Linked DNA regions of Homo sapiens: region 1 is linked to region 2. The links are contacts of gene promoters, found by promoter capture Hi-C in blood cells and fetal thymus (Javierre and others, 2016). All regions are on one chromosome and are shown on one strand. Each heading gives the region's core, a stretch centred on a gene start or on the middle of the fragment in contact. The rest is flanking DNA. Distances are from core to core; before and after follow the strand shown.

What was found. Contacts are between HindIII fragments. The CHiCAGO score rates a contact against its expected background, and 5 or more counts as called.
Region 1: a fragment that was not itself captured here is called in contact with the fragment with the promoter of SLC28A2 in region 2 in 4 of 17 cell types (M2 macrophages, M1 macrophages, naive B cells and 1 more); the score reaches 6.6 in M2 macrophages.

The regions. Positions count from the first base shown.
Region 1 is chr15:45,385,488-45,389,367 of GRCh38, reverse strand. It overlaps a transcript of GATM not described here. Among named protein-coding and RNA genes, the nearest start is that of GATM, 8.9 kb to the right of the region's middle. The HindIII fragment of the contact is 2,225 bases long and covers 222-2,446 here.
Region 2 is chr15:45,250,984-45,254,856 of GRCh38, reverse strand. It overlaps SLC28A2 (solute carrier family 28 member 2), which reads right to left and starts at 2,623. Exons shown (of 18, transcript NM_004212.4): 1 at 2,579-2,623; 2 at 1,561-1,657; 3 at 1,337-1,425. The coding sequence starts at 1,641. SLC28A2-AS1 (SLC28A2 antisense RNA 1) reads left to right here. Exons shown (of 5, transcript NR_120335.1): 4 at 923-991; 5 at 2,785-3,276. The HindIII fragment of the contact is 6,298 bases long and covers 1-3,821 here.

The DNA of each region.
Region 1 (3,880 bases), core at 85-2,584, 140 kb before region 2:
CATAGAAACTTGGATTGGAAGAAACCTTAGAGGTCATCAAGTTCAACCGTCATCACTGCTGTGAATTTCAGTATAATGACCAATTTTTGTAAAAAGGTTAAATTGTGTTCAGGATATTCTGTTCAAGAAGATGAAAAGTATTTAATTCATCTTAGAAAGGCAGCCATACAAATGGGAGAAGTTTATATATTTAAAAACTTTTAGTGTTAAAGGAAAAAGCTTCAGTTGTCTGGAAAGTTTATTGATATGAAATGTGTTGGCCATGATGATATCCCCTAAGGAGGGCTTTATCTTTTAAACTCATATTCCAACTATTTTATATCTGCCAAACGTTACTGTCTTGCACAATTATAACTTTAACTTCCTCCAACTAAGAAAATTATTACTTATCAAACTAAATTTTCCATAAGGAGAGGAAAAGAGATAAATCTTCCTTGCAGAAGAATTCCAAGCAATATATGTATGTAAACCCCTCTTCCTTTCCAGGGGAGTTGGTCTCGGAGACTCAATTCCAAAGAATAAAGTATGAAAAGGAAAAAACACCAACCAACTTTACAGAGGAAAAACCCGGCAGACACTACCTTAAGCAAATGACAGGGTTAATACCATCAGTGATATGAGAATATTACATACTACCTGATACGATACGATGAAAAGGGCACATCATCTCGGTAGTATTCTTTCCAGAACTCCATAATGCCAGTCCAATCATGAGAAATACATAAACCCAGTTCAAAGCATAGACTACAAAATATCTGATTAGTTTTCCTCAAAACTGACGAAGTCCTGAAAAACCAAAGAAAGACTAAGATACTGTCAGAGAGCAGAGGCAATCACAGAAGACATTACAACGAAATATAGTGTGGTATCCTGGATTGGATATTGGAACAGAAAAAGAATGTTAGTGGAAAAACTGGTAAGATCCAAGTAAAGTCTGGAGTTTAGTTAATAATGATTTACAGTGTTGGTAGCTTAGTTTTAGCAAATGTATCTTAGCTGTGGAAGACAATAACAGGGTAAACCAAAACAGGGCGATGGGTGTACAGGAACTCTGTACTATCTTTGTAACTTTTCTGTAAATCCAAAAACAGATAGAAAACAAAATTTCCCACAAACTCATGAAAATTATTTTAACATATTAAAGTACAGACAGACTTCCACAAGTTTAGAAGGCTGACTTGTGCAGAATACCTACTTAAGATATCCACACTTAATCAGTCTGGTATAGTACCTCACGCCTGTAATCTCAGCACTCTGGGGGGCTGACTGAGGCAGGAGGAGCACTTGAGCCCAGGAGTTCAAGACCAGCCTGGGCAACATAGCAAGATTCTGTCTTTAATTTTTTAAAAATTAATATAATCACACTTAAAGCCCTTCTTGAGACCTATAGCACCATTTTGCTAGACTTGGAAGTTTAAGGTTTTCAGATTTGAATTCCCAGAGTATAAAATCAAAGTCTGTTTTCCAAAAGTTCACTTAACTCTTGAAAAAAGAATTGCACTGAGAATTTATCTCAGCAGAGTGTGGTGAATTTGGATGAATCATTTAGCCTTGGGCCATGAGGTTATCCCAACTATAAAATAAGATCCCTCTTAGTTTTAAAATTCTGTAAATATGCCTCTCTCAAACATTGTAAATATTGTTTTAAAGTGAGGTACAAATTCCAAGGGAAAAAATAAAACTTTGACTAGGCAATTGATTCCACAAACATTTATTAAGTGATAATCACTGTGCTAAGTACAACAGGAGCTGTAGCCCTTGCTCTCCAGAGGTCTGGCGAAAGAGATATGTAAACAAGCTGTTACAGCCATGTATAAGTGCTCTAAAAAAAGTATTAACAAGGTGTGCTGTGGTACACAGGAAGAAGTTGCTTCATTCTTCTGGAGATGTTACAGAAGGTTTGGACATAAAAAAAAAAAAACAGGAATACCATGAAATAGTACTGTTTGATCTAATCAGAGTCAATGAGGGATTAGTCCTATACTAGTAAACATTTATCTTCATTGGCTGTTTGTAAATATCTGGGAATTACTGGATTTTCCCAGTGCTAAATTGGCTGCAGAGTCAGAAATTTGGTTGCTACAGAATTGTGCCAGAAAAGCACAAGTATCTCAAGTTGCAGATGCATTCTCTTGGGAATGTCTGAAATCTGTCCCCTGAAATGATTTAATTGCTGTCACATGAACAACATAACTTTCCAGAAAAGGCAGTGTGTTGGCTGACATAGTCTGTCATTACTAAATCAAGCCTTCATAAAAACCTCATGCCTCACAGGTCATTCCATTTCCATCTTATAGCTGAATATTTCTAGTTTAGCCTTTGCAATATATAGTCTTATATGGTCTTCGTATTCAGTTTTGCTTTTAAATTCTGAATAGCATGGTAAACAGTAATTTAGAGTTCCTAAGCAAAAGTTCAATATTGGACCCTACTTTGATTCTAAGCTTGCAAATTCTGAATAATTCTATTTGAACAGACCTTTCTTTAGCAGGGAGAACGTGACTATGGAGGACGTTTTGTCACTTAAATGACCATAAGTGGAGGAGATGAGTGCTTCCTCCTGGGATGTTGCCCAAGACAAGTAAGAATATTCGAGAGGGATGCAGAAAACTGGCTAATGTTACTTCTTCAATTCCCAGGGCCCAGCTAGAGAAGTGCCTTTTGCTGGGAATGATAATTCTGGAAAATTCCCTACCAGCAACAAGCGAGACAGACAGGAGCGAAATAGCAAGCACAGACTGAGAACTGGGCAAAGTGCACAACAGAGAGATAGGCAGAAGTGTCTTCCCACGCTAATCTCCCTGTTCTGCCAGATCACAGCGTGTATGGACATGAGAGGAGCCAGGTGGCTGTGGGAGGTTTTCTCCCAGAGCAGTATCTACAGTTTTCTTAGGGCAGAGCTGCAAGGGAAAATATCTGTGACAACAAGAGTTGTTTCTAAGCAGACACAGGGCCTTTTGCTTCTAAAAATAATAGCGATTAGGGTTTTTTTCTGATTATAAATGTAGCAAAGTCTCATAGAGAAAGGTATACAAATTGCAGAAAAGCAGAAAGAAGAATATAAAGGTTACCCATTACATCTCCACGCAAAGATTGTCACTATTTAAATTTTGGTAAATTTCTTTCCAGAATTTTATGTGCATACATATGTTCAACATGGTTCAGAGAATACTGTACATACAATTTCATATTCGGTTATTTTTCAGTTAATATTGTGAGGAAGCCAGAGATCACTTCCAACCCCACTTTTAGCTCTTAGTGGGCTTTTTAGCTGGATGTAGAGGCCAAATTGAGAGCAGGCAGATTAACAAGAGAAAAGCGTACAAATTTTATTACTTTTACATGTACATAAGGATCTCCACAGGAAAGTGAAGTGTGAAGAAGTAGTCAAAGCAAGATGCTTTTATACTTTTTTAGACAAGGAACAATAAATTTGAGTAGAAATGACAGGACAAAGACAATCTGGCTAGGGACAGTGAATTTTCTAGAGGAGTCACTAGGAGATATATGGTGGGGTATAAAACTGGTGAAAGATAAGAGTTACTTCATTAAGTATGTTTGTTTAGGTCCATTGTCAACTGCAATTCCAAGTCTCTGGTGATAAGAGCTGTTTTCTCGCCCTAGTATGGAGAGGGTACTCCTCCCAGAGAAATCTTTATTGCTTACTATATACAGAGAGACAGGTCAGCTTCCTTTTTCTAAGACTAAATTTTCTCTAATGTTTTCAACTCAAAATAATATGTCAACCTGACATATTTTAAAATGACACATCCTCCACATCCTAGCTTATTAAAAGAAAAACTCTCTTTAAACATTATTTAGTGGTGCATGTTCATCTTATGATGAAATTTATTTATTATAAATCCTAAATTTATTCATT
Region 2 (3,873 bases), core at 1,374-3,873:
TGAAAAACTTACAAAGAATTTACTGTCAATTCAGTATATATAAAACATGATAATATAAAAATTTTTAGAGAGAAGCAAATTGTGAATAAAACAATTAAAAATTTTAAGAAGTCACTGAGGTAACTTTCAAAAATAAAGAGAAGAAAATATAAAAATAACCTTTTGTTTGGAAGCTGCTCTGAATCATCTCCATATATAGTCATGTGTTACTTAACAACAGGGATACATTCTGATAAATTCAACATTAGTCAATTTCATAATTATGCTAACATCTTACAGTGTACTTATGCAAACCTAGATGGTATAGCTTACGACACATCCAAGCTATATGGTGGATCCTATTATTCTTAGGCTGCAAATCTGTTCAGCATGTTTCTGTACTTAATACTGTAGGCAACTATAGCACAATGGTAAGTATTTGTGTATCTAAACATATCTAAACATAGAAAAGGCACAGTAAAAATACAGTATTATAATTTTATGGGACCACCGTTGTGTAATGATATACACCGTTGATATACATGATTATACACCATTGTATAATGCGGTCCATCATTGACTGAAACATCATTATGTAGCTCATGACCGTATTCCCTTTAGAAGCTATCCAATGTCCTCTTCTCAGCTTTTAGTGTATGACTTCTGCACTCTTTTATAAATACCCACTGTTTTCCAGACCATGGAACATTGCTTCTTTCCATATGATCTATTTTACTCAAACAATTTTCTTTGACATTACTTCTGGGACCAGATCCACAAACAAATTCAAAGATTTTTCTCACTCCTCCTTCCTAGACCCCTGTTCACATAGCACTGTGGACTGTACCTTCTTCATTCTTGAGACTCTTCTCTTTTGACTTCTAAGATCTTTTTTACTGTCTTTATTATCCTTATAATAAGTCCTTCTGTGTTTTCTCCCCAGGTTTCCCTTCCTCTCCACCATTCCCAAATCTGAGTATTCCAGAAGAGCTACTGTTTTTTTAATGATATGGTAAATTAATTTCTAAAGGGATTAAAATGAATACCTACCTGTTGTAATGAAAATAAATGTATAACATAAAGCAATCTGCAAAATAGTAAGTATACACTCAAAATCTGTTAGCCATTATTACCATTGTTATTATTTTTATTTTCAGTCCAACCAACACTGATACTGCTGAACTCCTTTTTTTTTATGGAGTTTATGGCACATGTTTAAGTTAATTAATTATGTAAGATACATATATATATGTACACATGGTAAGGTGGAGCGGTTGTGATAATACCACAAGCTGCCTGAAGGGGCAGCCCACCCTAGATCCTTTCCTAACTGAACAAGATTCCAAAACACCAGTACCTCTGGTAAGTGGAAGGGCCCAGTCCATCCCCCAGGCTGTGTCCTTGTGCGTCAGTCCTCTTGCTTCCCTCAGGCTCTACTTCTTTTTCCTACAAGCACAGAGAGCATTGGGATCAGTCATGGAGCCCTGCCAGGGATGATGGGGATTGAGAGCAGCCAAATACCCTACAGGAGCCCATGCAGCAGCCCACAGCTCTGCAGAGAGAAACTAAACTGGTGATTACCATGAGCTCCAGCCCCGGGTTCACTGTGCCAGTCTCCACTGTGGACAGAGCAATGGACTGTCTTCCACTTGCTTTCTCCATCTCCTGTTCTCCTCAACTGAAAAACAAATTCAGGGCCAAGCCTGAAAGATTGGTCATTCTGTTCTGTGGGGATGGGGAGAATTTTTAGGACCAGTTACCCATGGAAAACGCAAAACTAAAAGTCTTTGAAGGCTTAGTTGATTTCTTTAAGAACTGAGAATTGAGAAGATTGGATGTGTAATTTTTATATAATAAATAATGAAAAATAAAATCCTATTTCCTCTTGTGAATAGCTAAAGAAGAGGCAGTAAGATAGGAGAAGAGAAATGAAAGGCAGTGGAATTGAAATGAATCAGTGGGCCGCCCAGGGCCCCAGGATCTGGGCTATAAAGGTTCCTACTTGGACCCTCAAAGAAAGAGTCACAGGGTAACTACTCCTTTTAGCCCCAGGGAGGCCCCACTGAGCTTGCTGAGTAAGAAGGAAACAGGGAGGAAGGCAGTTGGGAAGACCCGGACCCTAAAGTATTGCTGAACAGATAACAATTTACAGGCCTTCAAATTCCTGACTATAATGTAGCATAAGAATTGGTTTTTTATGCCCCAGAGAGAACTCATCAGTGAAATTAACAAAACTTACATTTAAAATAATTAGTATGAATGTTAATGATCCCAAGTAAAGTTTTTAAACAAAATAAGCAAACATTTGGGCCTCAGAATAAGCAAATTTAATACATGGACATTCACAATTAGAATATAAGTTCATTCTGAGATATTTATTTACTTTGCAGAAAATTCCCTTCCCCATGGAATTGCTTTTGAAAATGTGATCTCTTCAAGCATTTGAAGTATAATTTCATTAAACACACATAACCAACTTATATTGTGTAAATTAGGGCCTTCCTGACTAGGCACAAAACTACCTGCATTTAGTTTAAATATGATCTCTTTAAAAATTTGTAAATTAGGCACCTGCCCTCCCCCAAACACCTTTACTTACCCCAGCTTGTGGAATTGATTCCCTCTGGCTCCTCAGTGAAGGACTGAAAGAAAAGCTCAGCTGCGAGGGAGGAGGGGCAGCTTGGGTGGGGCATGGGGGCTTTCCTGCCATTGGTTAGTTTTATGTCTTGGGCCCTCCTTCGCTGAGCCTGCCCTCAATGTAGAGGAGGACTGCACCTCTCAAGTTAAATATTATATGTTTTTAAGACTGTTTTGCAGGCCTAAGACTTATGCAGAGGTGGCGCCCGCCCGTAATCCCAGCACTTCGGGAGGCCGAGACGGGCGGATCGCTTGAGACCAGCCAGGATAACATGGCGAAACCACATCTCTACAACAAATACAAAAATTAGCTGGGCGCGGTGGCACACGACTGTGGTTCCAGTTACTCGGCAGGCGGAGGTGGAAGGATCCCTTGAGCCTCTGGAGGTGGAGGTTGCAGTGAGCTGTGATTGCGCCACTGCACTCCAGCCTGGGCGACAGAGTGAGACCCTGTCAGAAAACAAAACAAAACAAAAGAATTCTGTAAGAACTTCTAACAGGTACATTCCTGTAAGCATTACCCACCACTGGACTAGGCACTGGGTAGCCTGTAAAATACAGTAAGAGCCGTCTCTGCACCCAGAAAATTTACCATCATTTTGTGCTGGAAAGACATGCCCTAGAAAACAATAAACAGCACGACTGTACATGATTCCATGCCAAATGACTGCTAGGAATTATTTTATTAATCCATTCAACAAATACTTATTGAGTAACCACTATTAGCCAGCCACCGTTTTCCGTGTGAGGACATAAAAATGAGTGAGACAAGGTCTCTGCCATCAAAAAACGAACAGATCAGTGAGGAAAGACGGATGTGTCAAGAAAGGCTTTGCAGGTCGAGCGCGGTGAATCACGCTTGTAATCCCAGCACACTGGGAGGCAGAGGCAGGCGGATCATTTGAGGTCAGGCGCTCGAGACCACCCTGGCCAACATGGCGAAACTCCATCTCTACTAAAAATACAAAAATTATCCGGGCATGGTGGTGCAGGCTTGTAATCTCAGCTACTCAGGAGGCTGAGGCAGGAGAATCATTTGAACCCAGGAGGCAGAGGTTGCAGTGAGCCATGATCATGCCACTGCACTCCAGCCTGGGTGAGCGAGACTCCATCTCAAAAAAAAAAAAAAAAAAAAAAAAGAGGGAGAGAAAGACTTTACAGAGCTGGTAACACTTATCCTGGCCTGGAAAGAAAGAAAGAAAGCTTCCTATGACGCCCTCTGGATAAAACTTAGGACCCCTCCCTGCACTCTGATTG